Regions from separate parts of the Homo sapiens genome. Here region 2 is linked to region 1. The links are contacts of gene promoters, found by promoter capture Hi-C in human tissues and cell types (Jung and others, 2019). All regions are on one chromosome and are shown on one strand. Each heading gives the region's core, a stretch centred on a gene start or on the middle of the fragment in contact. The rest is flanking DNA. Distances are from core to core; before and after follow the strand shown. Region 1 holds the start of NOP56 (NOP56 ribonucleoprotein). Region 2 has its middle 5.5 kb from the start of STK35.

Region 1 (3,525 bases), core at 644-3,143:
GATTTAACACACAAAAGTGTGTTCATATAGTTACATATATATGTATATATGAAAAATATTTGTGTACATATTTCTATATATGTATGTAGAGCTGAGACAAAAGTTTTACAATGAACAGCACCTTACTCTAAGCAACACACTCTTATTTCTATTCGCTTTAATCCTTTTTCTTTTTTTTTTTTTTTTTTTTTTTTTTGACAGAGCCTTGCTCTGTTGCCCAGGCTAGAGTGCAGCCTCTGCCTCCCGGGTTCAAGCGATTCTCCTTCCTCAGCCTCCCGAGTAGCTGGGATTACAGACATGCTCCACCACGTCCAGCTAATTTTTTTATTTTTTGGTAGAGACGGGGTTTCACCATGTTGGCCAGGCTGGTCTCGAACTCCTGATCTTAAGTGATCCGCCTGCCTCGGCCTCCTAAAGTGCTGGATTATAGCCCACCCAATCCTATTTTTTTAAATGCTGTCCATTAATGCATTCTGACTTCTTGCTTGAAAACCCCTGGTTTAGTGGATAAGCACCTGTAACTCCAGGAAGATTCAGGATTAAGGGCAGAAATAATGAAGTAAATTGAAGTATTAGCATTAGTATTTTCCATTACATTTTGGAATCGTCTATTTTGATGTATTCACGACGGTTAAAATAATTTAACATGCTAATGTATGGATTAACTTGGCAATTCCATTTTAAAATATTAAATGGAATAACGATTCTGACTCGTAAGTAGACATGTGTAACAGAATTCAACCACATCTGTAAACCATATTGAAATTATGAGAGTAAGATTTACCAACCACATTTAGGTTTGACATATTAGATTTGTGAGTGAACTATGTACTTGGATTTTGTCAAGTAACTCAATCGCTTAACAAAATAACAATTAAATGTATAAATGCAGTTTATAGCTATACATTATTTTTAAAAATCCCCTTCGAATGACTCTTTAAAACATACCAGGGGATACGCTACTTAAGTATAACTAGGTTTTGGATTTATAACGTTAATATTAATTATTAAAGCAAAACTCATTTCTAAAGAGTCGCCTGAGTGCCCAAAAGACGCCCTCAAGGACAGGGAAGCAGCTGCGATTCACTCAGCGATCACCAGCGCCCAGAATTCAGGGCCGCCCAAGCGGAGGAGCAACACGTGGCCCAGCAAAAGGAGCTGGGTCCCGTGCAGCACAGCAACAAGAAACTGGCCTAGGAAGACGCTGGAGCGTCTTTCTTTCGCACGTTACTGCCTGCTACAGTCATTTAAAAAAAAAAAACCAAAAACAAAAAAAAGAAATAAATTAATAGTACGAAGAAAACTGCGCGAGCTACATTCCCAGCAGGGTCTGCGCCAGAGCGCGCCAGGCACCGCTCCCGTTACGGGTGGGAGGAAAGGATGCACCGCCCACCCGGCGCCGGGGAGGCTCGTCCCCGAGTAGGGGACGGGAACGCCTGGGTCCCGGGGACGTGGGGCGCAGGGTCTGGGGCCCGAGGCCACGGACGAAGCGGGAAGCCGGCTAGGCAGCGGTCTCTGTCTGGGATGGACGCCGCGCCCCACGCGGACCTCCCGCCCCGACTTCACCCAGCTCTGCTGCCCGTAACTCATATGACAAGAACATCAGGAACCGGACTATTACCCCGAAAGGGCCTTCCCAAGTCGTTTCGCCGCCTGCAGTGCCCGACCGGGGGCCGCGCGTCCCCGGCAACCACGCCCGCCCGCGCAGCTGCAGAGGCCGGAAAAGGCCCGCTCGCCCGCGCTCGGCACCACCCAGCCCGCGCTCCGGGCGATACCACCCTGGGCGGCCCCTCCAAAGGCCGGAGATGGTGTCGTCCCCGGCCTCCGATTGGTCGGGGGGGCGGGGGCGTGGCCTCTGGAGCCTGGTTCCGCGCGCCGGAGCGCGCTAGCCGCATTGCGAGCCGAACCCGGGAGCTGGCGCCATGGTGAGGAGTGGTTGCGGGGCGCGGGCGACGCGACGGTGGGGGTTTCGGCCTGCGTTCGGGCCGCAGACAGGGCCTGGGCCTGGGCCTGGGCCTGCGCCTGCGCCTGCGCCTGCCCTGGGAACGGGTTCCGGCAGACGCTGAGGTTGCGTTGACGCTCGCGCCCCGGCTCCCGTTCCAGGTGCTGTTGCACGTGCTGTTTGAGCACGCGGTCGGCTACGCGCTGCTGGCGCTGAAGGAAGTGGAGGAGATCAGTCTGCTGCAGCCGCAGGTGGGTGAGATCCGTGGGCTCCTTTGGCGGCCCCGCAGACCCTCATCGCGCGGGTCCCAGCATGCACAGCGCGCTCCCACGTGGCCGGCCGAGCGGTTCGGGGCGGGGGGACGGGCCTGGAAAGCTCTAGATCCGGGGGTCTTTACCTTGACCCATGGGTAGAATCGCTCTAGCAATTAGAAATAAGCCTCCCGGACGCCGCCCCCGAACGATTAAAGCAGAAGCTGGGATGTGGGGCCCAGGTATCAGCATATTTTAAGAGCTTCCAAGGCTGAGAACCGCTGCTTGACTGCGCCGCAGAGGCAGGAGGGAGGGAAGGAAACCACTTAGCCTCTTTCTCCCCCCAGGTGGAGGAGTCTGTGCTCAACCTGGGCAAATTCCACAGCATCGTTCGTCTGGTGGCCTTTTGTCCCTTTGCCTCATCCCAGGTTGCCTTGGAAAATGCCAACGCCGTGTCTGAAGGTAAGTCGGCCACCGCCAAGTGTCACAGAGAGATGTGGTTCCTTTCGGTATCCTCTCGGGCAGCTTGTGATAGTATTTGCCGTCCTTGGCTGGCTCTGAGTCTGATAGGCGTGAGGCAGTATTTGAGCCATACAATGTGTAATTTGAAATAATTGTCTTCACAGAGCTCAAGGTCTGGGAACTGTGCTAGACCAAACTGTTTAAGCAGACGATGTGGAATGTGTGTTAACGTTTCCTTGTGGGCACTGTAGTGACAAACTATTTTTTATTTTTATTTTTTTTGAGATGGAGTCTGTCCCCCAGGCTGGAGTGCAGTGGCAAGATCTGGGCTCACTGCAACCTCTGCCTCCCTGGTTCAGGCGATTCTCCTGCCTCAGCCTCCCGAGTAACTGGGATTACAGGCCTGTGCCAGCCACCACACCCGGCTAATTTTGTATTTTTGGTAGAGACGGGGTTTCACCATGTTGGCCAGGCTAGTCTCCATCTCCTGACCTCGTGATCCGCCCGCCTCGACCTCCCAAGGTGCTGAGGTTGCAGGCGCGAGCGACGGTGCCCGGCCGACAAAGGGGGGTTTCTTAAAGGGGGTCGGCTTAACACCTACTTGTGCCTGAGGTTTTGCCTAAACACAATCAAGTGTCTGGTTCTCTGCTTTCTGTTCGATTGGAAAGGGCAGTTGGGTAAACACAGGCTGAGAAAAAAAGGTTTGGTTCCAGAAGGCAAATTCTACGAAATACTCGAGGGTGTGTTACAAGCTATTATTTATTGCCCACTTGTGCTATCAGACCTGAATGCAGTTGTTCCCATGGCTGGGCCAGGCTTTGCAGTGATGACTTGCGAATCAAATCTGTCAATCCCCTGAGTGCAATCACT
Region 2 (3,536 bases), core at 259-2,758, 560 kb before region 1:
TCCTCCCAAACTGCTGGAATTACAGGCGTGAGCCACCACATGTGGCCAGTCTTCCCATCTATAAAATGGGGACGAAAACAGCCTCTCCCATATAGAGTTATTGCGAGTTGTGTGGTGTTAGGCATCATGACAAGCTCTAGCGTTTCCTGGAGACAGCCTTCCTGGAGCCCTCTGAAAATCCAGAGCCATTATGGGAGGGGAGCTCTCCAAGGCGACTGCACACACTCCTCCAGGCCTCCCTAGTACTCCCTGCTCAGGGGATCTCCTTCATTGAGGCAGCCACCTCAAGCTTCAGTCTTCAGCACCTCCTGCTCCCAAGATCCTCCTCCTATACCCCTGTGCCAGCCTCTCTGCCTTTAACCCTCTCCCACGCTCGGCTCCCCCTTCTACAACCACCACACCACCTCATTCCTAGCCCCTACCCCCATGCCACCTCTGTCCTTAATCCTCAGCCCCAATCCTTCCTCCTCACTCCGCATAATCCCTCTTCCAGCCCCCTGGAGCAGTCTCAGCCCCCTGTCTCCTACCTTCCATTCCCCCACACTCCTTTACTCCATCCACCCTTCCCTCCCAGGACGAAGCTCCCTGCTTTCCCATGGCACCACCCCCAGGGCTGGCTGCCCCTCGGGTGTCCTCAGCCCCCTGAAGTACAGAGATGGATCACCAGCCTCAGCCTTACTATTCTGCCTTCTCACTTGGGACGGTTCTTACCTATCCGAGCTTCAGCACTCTCGTGTGAAAGGAGGGCCAATGGGGTCCAGCCACATCACCGACCGTAAGTGCTTGGCATATAGCAAGCACTCAGTAACTCCACCATTCTTTCCATGGCCCCTGAGTCCCTGCCTCGTTATGGGGCCCCACACATCCCTCTTCCTGTGTTTCCCACCACTCTTCCCCCATTCACTCAGCTCAGGCCACACTGGCCTCCTTGCCTGCTCCCTCCCACCTAGGGCCTTTGCTCTTCCCTCTGATCTGAAATGCTCTTCCAGTAGAGATGCAATTGACCTATTCTTTAACTTAAATCAGGTCCCTGCTCAATGGTCACCTCCTTAGAAAGCTTTCCCCAAACCACCCATTCTAGAATACCATCGACCCCATCCCTTGCTATCTTTTTTTTTTTTTTTTTTTTTTGAGACGGAGTTTCGCTCTTGCTGCCCAGGCTGTAGTGCAATGGTGCAATCTCAGCTTACTGCCACCTCTGCTTTCTGGGTTCAAGTGATTCCTGTGCCTCAGCCTCCTGAGTAGCTGAGATTACAGGTGTGTGCCACCATGCCCGGCTAATTTTGTATTTTTAGTAGAGACGGGGTTTCTCCATGTTGGTCAGGCTGGTCTCGAACTCCTGACCTCAGGTGATCCGCCTGCCTCGGCCTCCCAAAGTGCTGGGATTACAGGCATGAGTCACCATGCCCAGCCTCCATCCCTTGCTATCTTTTGTTTACTTTCTGGTCCCTAATGGGTCTACTGTGATGTGGGACTGCATAACTGCACTGTCATATTGTCTGTGTCAGCCCCTCAAGGCAGACACTGAGTTTTCTCCTGCTCATCCCCATACATCAGCTCCCAAACTGCCTTGCACATAGAGGAGTAAGGGTTCAAAAAATGTTAAATGAATGACTTTTCTTACAGTAAAAGTGTAGCCATTGCTTTATTCAGCCAGTGTCAGCGACTCCTTGAGTGTAGAGAGCACAACCAATGATGTGACATTCCATGCAGCTCTCTGTGCTCAGCAGAGAAAGGACTTCCTTCCGCATCCCTGGCCTGCTAAAAGGGCTGAAAACCTCACTGCTTGGTCGGTTACGGTGGCTCACGCCTGAAATCTCAGCACTTTGGGAGGTCAAGGTGGATGGATCACTTGAGGTCAGGAGTTCGAGGCCAGCCTGGCCAATATGATGAAACCCCATCTCTACTAAAACACACACACACACACAAAATTAGCCAGGTGTGGTGGCAGGTGTCAGTAATCCCAGCTACTCGGGAGGCTGAGGAGGAGAATCATTTGAATCCAGGAGGTAGAGGTTGCAGGGAGCCGAGATCATGCCACTGCACCCCAGCCTGGACAACAGAGTGAGACTCCATTTAAAAAAACAAACAAAAAACCTCACTGCTGCTCTTCTCTTCTACATTTCTTCTATCACTAAATATTGAGCTCAGTCAGATGTTTGGTACTGTCTGAGGTTCCAGGGATACTGAGGCAGGCATGTTTGTCAACAAGAAAGATGTAGAAGAGGGCTCGCTGTAACGTTTACACTGCTTAGCCTGGGGAGGGGCTGAGTGCGATCAAGAGATGTGGAGTGTCTGGGGCCTCAGTTTGAAACCCAGCTGTGCCAGCTTCACATTCGGTTTCTTCATCTGTAAAATGGGGCTAATGAAAGTCACTACCTCATGGAATTGTCGTAATTCTTTGTTAATCCCTGTGCCTGGCAGACAGAAAACTTTAGTAAATGTTGGCTATTAGTCCTAACAGTAAAGTATAGGTTACTTCCATAAGTTAAGCAAGACAAAAACAAAAACTAAAAATTTGGTCAAGGCATCAAATGATTTATCAAGCAGTCCAGCCCTCTTAACAGCATATAAAAGGATTCACACTCCTTGTGGTCCTCCCAGAACTTCATATTCAATCTCTCTCAAAATTCAGGTGGGGGATACAGCTGGAGGCCATTATCCTAAGCAAATTAACTCAGGAACAGAAAACCAAAAACCAAATACCGCATGTTCTCACTTATATGTGGGAGTAAACAATGGGTGCTCATGGACATAAAGACAGGAGTAGACACTGTGTATTACTAGGGTGGGGAGGGAAGGGCAAGGGTGGAAAAGCTACTGGTTACTATGCTCATTACCTGGACGATGGGCTCAACTGTATCCCAAACCTTAGCATCACACAATATATGCATGTAACAAACCTGCACAGGTACCCCAAAATCTAAAAAAACAAGCTGGAATTATAAAAAGTAAATAGGCCGGGTGCAGTGGCTCATGCCTGTAATCCCAGCACTCTGGGAGGCCAAGGTGGGAGGATGGCTGAGCCAGGAGTTCGAGACCAGCCTGGGCAACATGGTAAAATCCTAGTGGCATGTGCCCACAGTCCCGGCTACTCAGGAGGCTGAGGTGGGAGGATCACTTGAGCCCAGGAGGTCAAGGCTGCAGTGTGCCATGATCATGCCACTGCACTCCAAGCTTGGGCAACAGAGCAAGACCCTCTCTCAAATAGATGGATAAATAGGTAAGATGCCTAAAAACAAAATAAAAACATGTATATGTGTATTAGAAAACAAAACAAAACAAAATCAGATAGGAAAACTAGCCAGGAGGAAAGACACTGCTGGCTGTGCTAAACCTACGAAGCCAGTGATACAGGAATGGGGCCAGGGCCACACAATGCAGCCTTCTGTCCTTAGAAACTTCTAAGTAAAGACACAAGTGTTCGCAGCTACAGGGTTTTGGCTTTTTTTTTTTTTTTTTTATGTTTTAATTCAACTTTGTCGTGGTACAATTTACACACAATAAAATTCCATCACCCAGAAAATTCCCCTGTG

What was found. Contacts are between HindIII fragments. The study calls those that stand out against the background at their distance.
Region 2: a fragment that was not itself captured here is called in contact with the fragment with the promoter of NOP56 in region 1 in 1 of the 25 tissues and cell types used here (spleen).

The regions. Positions count from the first base shown.
Region 1 is chr20:2,650,739-2,654,263 of GRCh38, forward strand. It overlaps NOP56 (NOP56 ribonucleoprotein), which reads left to right and starts at 1,894. Exons shown (of 12, transcript NM_006392.4): 1 at 1,894-1,925; 2 at 2,104-2,193; 3 at 2,541-2,655. The coding sequence starts at 1,923. It overlaps MIR1292 (microRNA 1292), which reads left to right and starts at 2,039; the gene lies at 2,039-2,104. LOC105372505 (a long non-coding RNA gene) reads right to left here and starts at 1,726. Exons shown (of 5, transcript XR_007067502.1): 1 at 1,622-1,726. It overlaps SNORD110 (small nucleolar RNA, C/D box 110), which reads left to right and starts at 3,474; the gene lies at 3,474-3,525. RefSeq lists a silencer at 1,378-2,017 and an enhancer at 2,518-2,607. The HindIII fragment of the contact is 12,812 bases long and covers 1-3,525 here.
Region 2 is chr20:2,094,571-2,098,106 of GRCh38, forward strand. No RefSeq gene overlaps it. Among named protein-coding and RNA genes, the nearest start is that of STK35, 5.5 kb to the right of the region's middle. RefSeq lists enhancers at 107-608, 609-1,108. The HindIII fragment of the contact is 4,445 bases long and covers 1-3,536 here.